Linked DNA regions of Homo sapiens: region 1 is linked to region 2. The links are contacts of gene promoters, found by promoter capture Hi-C in blood cells and fetal thymus (Javierre and others, 2016). All regions are on one chromosome and are shown on one strand. Each heading gives the region's core, a stretch centred on a gene start or on the middle of the fragment in contact. The rest is flanking DNA. Distances are from core to core; before and after follow the strand shown. Region 1 has its middle 20 kb from the start of MIR3658. Region 2 holds the start of FAM78B (family with sequence similarity 78 member B).

The links. The method cuts DNA at HindIII sites, captures the fragments that hold promoters and counts their contacts. A CHiCAGO score of 5 or more calls a contact.
Region 1: a contact is called between a fragment that was not itself captured here and the fragment with the promoter of FAM78B in region 2, in 1 of 17 cell types (megakaryocytes). The highest score is 5.3, in megakaryocytes.

The regions. Positions count from the first base shown.
Region 1 is chr1:165,925,552-165,929,693 of GRCh38, reverse strand. No RefSeq gene overlaps it. Among named protein-coding and RNA genes, the nearest start is that of MIR3658, 20 kb to the right of the region's middle. RefSeq lists a silencer at 1,312-1,421. The HindIII fragment of the contact is 1,953 bases long and covers 1,898-3,850 here.
Region 2 is chr1:166,164,186-166,168,383 of GRCh38, reverse strand. It overlaps FAM78B (family with sequence similarity 78 member B), which reads left to right and starts at 1,383. Exons shown (of 2, transcript NM_001017961.5): 1 at 1,383-2,398. The coding sequence starts at 2,136. LOC112268276 (a long non-coding RNA gene) reads right to left here and starts at 2,507. Exons shown (of 3, transcript XR_002958633.2): 1 at 2,330-2,507. RefSeq lists silencers at 1,143-1,632, 1,673-1,732 and enhancers at 2,123-2,172, 2,273-2,442, 1,614-2,516. The HindIII fragment of the contact is 5,998 bases long and covers 1-3,803 here.

The sequences.
Region 1 (4,142 bases), core at 1,625-4,124, 240 kb after region 2:
AAAGTAAAGGGTTTCAATCTGTGAAATGTGAAGAAAACTCTATAGTCATTACCAAAAAAAAAAAAAATAGACTTCAGTTAGTCAACTGGATAATAAGACTCAAGACTCACTCCCACCCCTCTATCCCACCCCCTGGCTCGTGTTCTGAAACAAAAGCAAAAAATAAGCACAAATTGTGCTGAGAAAATGATTAGCTTGGGCTCCTTTGAAGCCCTAAGTCACAAGCATCAGCCCATCTGCCGCTTGCCTTCACCCCATATTTTAGCCAAATCTTCACACGGAATTCCATGGTCCCAGGCTTTGCTGACCACTCCCCTCTCAGGAAGTCTTCTGTTTCCTCTGTCCCATCATTCAGATCAAGATGGACCTCTAACTTTCTCAAGTGGCCTCCAGCAAGATTCTGCTCTCCTTACCAGACAGTCCTGACTGGGGTGCTGTATTGCTAACTGGAAATAGCTTAAAGGGTTGTCCCTCTCGGAGGCAGCATCCTTCCTCTCAAAAGCTACTCTGAGTTTAGGGAACAGCCACCTTAAGGGAGACTTAGGCCAAGCCACAGAGACAGGTAAAATGAAATGTGGATGCTTCCATAGCATCTAAGTTGGAAATGTGCCTTTAAAATGCAGATATCAGCTGGGCGTGATGCCTCACACCTGTAATCCCAGCACTTTGGGAAGCCAAGGCAGGCGGATCACCTGAGGCCAGGAGTTTGAGACCAACCTGGCCAACATGGTGAAACCCCATCTGTACTAAAAATACAAAAATTAGCTGGGCATGGTGGTGAGTGCCTGTAATCCCAGCTACTCAGGAGGCTGAGGCAGGAGAATTGCTTGAACCTGGAGGGCAGAGGTTGCAGTGAGCCAAGATCGCACCGCTGCACTCTAGCATGGGCAACAGAGTGAAACTCTGTCTCAAAAATAATAACAATAAATAAAATGCAGATATGAATGACAAGGTCCCAAATAGGGATATTATAAGGAAACACAAACCCAGGCTAAGGGCCGAGGTGCTCACCTGCTGGTCAGGTGAACAGGGACTTCCACGGAGTAGCTCCGTGGAGAGCCGAGCACTGTAAAGATATCCAGGAGGGAGAGGGTTGGAGAACAGAACTCAGTCTTTGAGATAGCATGACATGGGGGAGGCAGCAGGGTGTAAGGGTATTGGGTTTACATTCTGCAGGCAGAAAAACACGGGTTCAAATTCCGGCTTCTCCATGTATTGCTGACGACATAATTTACTTAACATCTCCTAAAGCTCAATTCCCTTTATGGAAAGAGGGGTAATTCAATCTACCTCACAGGATTCAAATGAGGTTTAAAACAAAACAATGCATTTCAGTGACAGGCATACAGTAGAGGCTAACTAGATAAATGGTTGATGAACGAAATGAATGCGAGAAATTACAATTGCGCCCCCTGGTGAGGTTTTGAAGCCTAGCACATTGGAGAATGACAAGCACATGGGAGATAGTGTCATTACAGGATGTGTCAATGTGTCATGGCCAATACTTACACACACACACACACACACACACACACACAGTCTACCTCTGCCAGATTCTCCTTGCTGCTACAGCAGCAAATAGAAATGACCATGTATTAGTCCTTTCTCCTTATTCTCACACATACACAAATGCAACCAAGAGAAAAATCTCCACATCTAAGTGTGTCCAAAAGTCATATCCAAGTTCTGTATTATCAAATATCTATTAGCAAACTCAACAAAAATAAACGATGGAGAAAAGATTCCCTATTCAATAAATGGTGCCGGGATGACTGGCTATACATAGGTAAAAGAATAAAACTGGACTCCTACCTATCACCACATACAAACAATAACTCAAGACGGATTAACGACTTAAATGTAAGACCTCAAGCTATAAGAATCCTAAAAGAAAGCTTAGGAAATACCCTTCTCAATATTGGCCTTGGCAAAGAATTTATGACTAAGTCCTCAAATGCAACTGCAACAAAAACAAAAATTGACAAGTGGGACCTAATTAAACTAAAGAGCTTCTGCACAGCAAGAGAAACCATCGAGGAAGTAAAGAGACAACCTACAGAATGGAAGAAAATATTCACAAACTATGCATCTAACAAATGTCTAAGACCCAAAATCGATATAAAAACTTAAATCAATAAGCAAAAAGCAAATAACCTCATTAAAAGTTGACAAAAGACATGGACAAACACTTCTAAAACGAAGACATACAACCAGCCAACAAACATATGACAAAATGCTCAACAACACTAATCATCAGAGAAATGCAAATCAAAACCACAATGAGATACCATCTCTCGCCTGTCAGAGTGACTTTTGTTAAAAAGTCAAAAAATAACAGGTGCTAGCAAGGCTATGGAGAAAAGGGAACACATATGCTGTTGGCAAGAATGCAAATTAGTCTAGCCACTGTAGAGAGCAGTTTGTAGATTTCTCAAAGAAGTTAGGCTGAACTACTATTTGTCCCAGCAATCCCATTACCAGATATATGCCCAAAGGAAAATAAATCATTCTACCAAAAGGATACATGCACCCATATGTTCACTGCAGCACTATTCACAATAGCAAAAACATGGAATCAACCCAGGTGCCCAACAACAGTGGACTGGATAAAGAAAATGTGGTATATATTCGCCATGGAATACTACACAGCCATAAAAAAGAACAAAATCAGCTGGGCGCGGTGGCTCCTGCCTGTAATCCCGCACTTTGGGAGGCCGAGGCAGGCGGATCACGAGGTCAGGAGATCGAGACCATCCTGGCTAACACGGTGAAACCCCATCTCTACTAAAAATACAAAAAATTAGCCAGGTGTGGTGGCGGGCGCCTGTAGTCCCAGCTACTCGGGAGGCTGAGGCAGGAGAATGGTGTGAACCTGGGAGGCGGAGCTTGCAGTGAGCCGAGATTGCACCACTGCACTCCAGCCTGGGGGACAGAGCGACACTCCGTCTCAAAAAAAAAAAAAAAAAAATCATGTCCTTTGCATCAACATAGATGCAGCTAGAGGCCATTATCCTAAGTGAAGTAACACAGAAACAGAAAACCAAATACCACATGTTCTCACTTATAAGTGGGAGCTAAACATTGCATATACATGGACATAAAAATGCCAACAACAGACACTGGGGAATATTAGAGGAGGGACTGAGGGAGGGGCGCAGGGGCTGAAAAACTACACATTGGGTACTATGGTCTCTACCTGGGTGATGGATTCAGTCATACCCCAAACCTCAGCATCACACAATATACCTTTGTAACAAACCTGCACAGGTACCCCCAATTCTAAAATAAAGGCTGAAACAGAAAAAAAAAAATATCTATTAGCAAACCAGATGGTGCTGTTGGTGCTGTTGTTGACTGCATGATCAAATAAATCTCTAACATAAAACAGCAGAGAACAGGTTAAAACCCCCTCAGAGGAAATGCTATTCTAAAAATAGTCTCTCTTTGGTCCCCATTCCCACCCCAGCAGCCCCCTGACACATGCACATACACACACACACCAATGTGTGTGCATGGAAAGCTCACCTTAACTGAAGTTTTAAAAACACCAGTTTGATCAAATCAATAAAGACATTTTTAAAATAGACTCTGAAAGAAAATGGCCCTAAGGATCTCGCTGGGGTGTTCTTTGGCGCAGCAGGCGATAAGCATGGTGACTGACATTTCCAGTCTTTCCTCCTCCCCTCTCATGCCACCAATCATGAACAGGCACTTTAAGTCTCCCATCACCTTGAGAAGGGGTCAGTCTCCTTTCCTCAAGCATGAGAGAAGATGGCAAAGCTCTCTCTACCATTCAGTTCCTTTATTGGTCCTGAAAAGTGAGTGACAGTGGCTTTTCTTCTCGGAAGCTTATCTCAGGGGTTAGAGCAGCATCATACCACACCCATTCTTAATCTCCTCTTCCTCAGGGTCCCTGCCCGGAAAAGGAAAGTGCCCCTCTCCACAGTCTGGAGCATAACCCTCCCACAGGGCCACCCTTCTTGGATGCCAGGCTGACACCTCCCCAGAGAGTGTCAGAGCACAATGTTCAGCCCAACACTTTAATGACACTGCTGTTTCCTGGCTCTCAGATTTGTCCGAAACTGCCTGGTATACCTCGGCTTACTGTGGGTCTCCTCTTCTGGAAGAGTGTACATTCTAGT
Region 2 (4,198 bases), core at 134-2,633:
TCCCCCTCAGTACAGGATGAGTTCTTTCATATCTCTATGCATTTTGCATTTGCCAAATGCTGGTCCTGTACTACTCATTCACCTTTCTCTTTTCAGTGAGACTCTACAGTCTGTCAGTATTCAATTTAAATGTCACTACTTGAGCAAAGTCACACGTAAATCTCTCAGTGGCCAGAGAGCCACTGAGTGGCTCTCTGACCACTGAGGGATTTACATGTGGCCAGAGATTTACATGTCTGGCCTTCCACGGCACTGGATACACAACCCCACTAAAGCAGGTGTCACAGTTTACTATAATAACTTGTTAACAGGTTTATTTTCTCCAGTGATCCATGTGCTCTTTTTCAACTTTGAATCCCTAGTACCTAGCACTATGTTTGGCTCCTGCCAGGCAGGCAGTCAGCCTTTGCTGAATGAAAGGACCAGTGATTGAGGTCTGTGGCTACACGGTAAAATGAGAGAGACGAGTCATCAAAGGGAAAAACTGCTTTTTTGTTAACTATAAAGTGAACCAAGGTGTCAGAACAGTTAAAACAAGGATGAAGAGTGCTTTTAGATCTCAATCAATTTTTAAATTACTCGTCACACCTGTCCTAGCTAAAGACTAACTCTAGCACCTCCTGCGGCCTGTTAGTCAGTATTTCACACTTGGGCAGCAGATCCAGCAAATGTTCAATGATCGCAGAAGAAATACTTAGAAGCTATTGGCTTTGAAAATAAAAATGTAAGAAGATGCCTAGTAAAAGCATCTGCTAAATATTCTTCCTGTTTGGCACATTAGACTGCAGTATCAGACACATGACCGTGGTCATACTGTACACAATGCCCAATGTCTGCCAAAACTCTGGCATATGAGAGACTTAGTGCTGGAGTACGGAGGGATTCTTCCGGTATCCCCACTACACACAGTGGTGGAAAGAAGAGCTTCCAGAACAAACCCAGTCAGGCAAAGAGGCAAATACACTGCATTTAGTAACGCTGCTGGAGCCCGCCCTTCACCCTTTCTGAAGGTAGGATACTAAAAGGGCTCAAGCCTAAATCTAATCCAACAAGCTATATTCTGAATAACGACCAATCTCTGATAAAGCTGTTCCCCTAACCCTTCTGCTGCCCGAAACACTCACTCTACAGCCCCTACTGGGCTACCGGGTTCCCCACTGGACTCTGGACAGCGCCGCGCCCTGCTCGGCCTCACCCACCCGGTGGCGCTTGGGCCCGCCCTAGTCCCCCACCCCCACCCCAGGGCACCACCTACCAGGGCCCCGCCCCGCCTCAGCCCCACGTGCGGGGCCCCACCCCGGCGCTAGCGGCCCTTTAAACACCCCCACCCTTACACATTACCCCCCCCCCACCCGGACGGCAGCCGAATAGGGACAAAACTCATGGCGTACAGCCAGTTTCCTCCGCGGAGCACGTCCTGTGCTGCTCCAGCCGTTGGGGCTCTCCACCCCGGGCCACAGCCTCCTGGCGCCCCCCGGGCCGAGGCAGCCGGGCCGAGGAGTGTCGGTGTGGTCCGGCTACGGGGCGGGGCCGGCGGGAGCTCCGGTCGCCGCCGCCGCCGCTGCTGCCTCCGCCTGCCTCTTGGGCCGCCCGCTCGCCCGCCGCTGGGTGCGCTGCACGCGGGGGGCAGCCGTGGTGCAGAGGTTCATGCAGCGGCGGCGGCGGCGGCGGCTGCTGCTGCTGCCGCCGCGGAGGCAGACAGACCGGGCGCTGCCACCGCCGCCCTCCCCCGGCTCCATGCCGCCGCCGCTGCCGCCTCCTCCTCTCCGGCGAGGGGCGGGGGGCTCCGGCCCGGGGTGGGCACCATTCCTCGCAGCGCCGCTCCCCTCCCTGCCCTCCGCCCGGGCGCTGGAGCCGGCGAGGGCACCCGCCGCCTCCTAGGAGTGCACCCTCCGCGCGCCCTGCCGGAGCGAGGGGGCGGGCGTGGGCGGACGTCGGGGCAGCGGGGACCCCGCGCGGCTGCAAGAGGAGGGGGCTTCCCCAAGGATGCCCGGCGGCTCCCCGCTCCTAGGTGCGAGCTGAGTCTGACCGGGAGCGAGCGGCGCGTCGCCATGCCGGCGTGACGGGCGCCCCCGGCTGCCCGCGCGGGCCCCCGCGCTGCCCCACGCCGCGCCGTGCCGGCACCGGGCTGCAGGATGGGCTGTATCCAAAGCATCACCTGCAAGGCGCGGATCCGGCGCGAGAACATCGTGGTGTACGATGTGTGCGCCACCATCGACCAGTGCCCCACGCGCATCGAGGAGACCTCGCCCATCGTCCTGCGCTACAAGACCCCCTACTTCAAAGCCTCCGCCCGCGTGGTCATGCCCCCCATCCCCCGCCACGAGACCTGGGTGGTGGGCTGGATTCAGGCGTGCAATCAGATGGAGTTCTTCAACACCTACAGCGACCTGGGCATGTAAGCGACTCGCCGCGCGGCACGGGAGCGGACTCTGGGCCCCCAGCTCTGCTTGCCACCTTGACCCCCCTCCCCAGCTCCTTCCTACTGCTGTCCCCATCGTCTTTCTAAACCTTCCTCCCGCCTCCTCTCCCACCTCCCTCCTCCCTACGCTTTTGTTTCAGTGACAGGGCGGGTGTAGGGAGGCTCCTTGCGAAGGCATTTTCTCGTGGTTTGCTTCTGACTTCCCAGAAACGCGAGGAGAAAGGTGCGGGGCGGGAAGAACGCGACAAGGAGGGTTCGAGAGGCGGAGGTGGGGATGGCTGGCGAGTGCCTGGCGAGTTTCAGGGCGCCGTCTGTGCTTTGTGGGGCTCCCCGGGAAGAGTTTGGGGGAAACCATAGAGGAGTGGAGTGGAGTGCCGGGGGCGCATGGGCTGTGCCGCGCGTCCTTTGGAGAAACCGGAGCGGGCTTGGAAGAGCAGGTCCCGGGCATCCGAGCGGGAGTTGGTAGTTCTGTCCTTGCCCTCGCGACTGTTGAAGTTTCGAACCCTTGTCCCCCGGGCCAGGGAGCCCGGAGGCGTTTCCGTCTGGAACCACAAGCCGGACACAGTTGCCTCTCTGTTTCCGCGCCCCCTGGACCAGTTCTGGTGGGGAGCTGGAAGGCACCGAGTGCGTCCCGGCCAAGAAGGGCGGATAGCCTTGTGCGAGCAGCGTTCGGCTGGCGCGGCGCGGGGTGTTTCTTATGCTAAAGGAAAGGATGGATCTCTTGTCTGTCTAGGGTCCTTACTTTTTAAAACTTTCCTAATTGCGGCACTGGAAGGGATTCCCCTGGCGCCCACCGCCGAATTCTATCGGCGAGCTGGGAGCTCTCCAACTTTCAGCAGCGCCGGTTGGTGCGCGCCGGGCTTGGCTGCTGCGGTGAAGACCAAGGATCGCCGCGGCTCCTCAACCGCCAGGGGCCGCAGGCTACGGGCGGTCGCGTCCGGGACTTTTATATTTACCAAATTTTCATAACTCCGCACCCGCCTCCTTTCAGAACTAGACTCTGAGCAGGTGGCAACGACAATAGCTAAAAGGTTTAGGGCCTGCCTTCTACCTGCTGTTACAATGTAGGTCTAGAACACCCTAATTAGCCAGTCTGCAGCCTACAGGGAAACCCTTTTTCTGGAAATTCAACCTCATTTCACTTATTAATCTAAAACTCTAGAGCTCCCAAGGTTCGTCTATTTAATATGGATATGGGGTGGGGGAGTTCCCATTTTAAAAGGTCAAACCATCTTTTTAGCAGCAGTTTGCAGGCTTTTTATTGCACTCTGAGAGCATGTCAGTTAACACTAGTCATAGGCGCTAAAAGAAATTTGACAGGTCGTTGTTTTCCTTTTTTCCTCCCAAAGATTTTGCACTTTTCTCTTTAAGCACAAAAGCTTAATCCTTGAGAAAACTCAATTCCTAGTGAAGAAATGTGAGGCCCAGTTTCCAATATGCCTCAGCACACTGTATTCTTCCAGAGAAGACAGCTAGATGTGAGAAATGGGGGATATTTTATTTGGGGCGAATCATGCCATTTAAAAACTGACATACCCTCAAAAGAATGATTATATGTGAACACATGTGTCTCTTAAAACTGCTTTTTAAAATAAATCCATTGTTTCCAGCCAAGTCAGAGAAAGCCACAGGCAGGGCAAGAGCCCTTCCTCTCATTTCCCTGGCCTCACCCTGATGGCAGTGGGTTGCTGGAGGACAGCAAGTGCTCCCCACAGCAGCCTGGGGCCCCTGGTAGAGGAAGCCAGGAGTGACTGTGCAGAAGCAGCCTCACTTTTC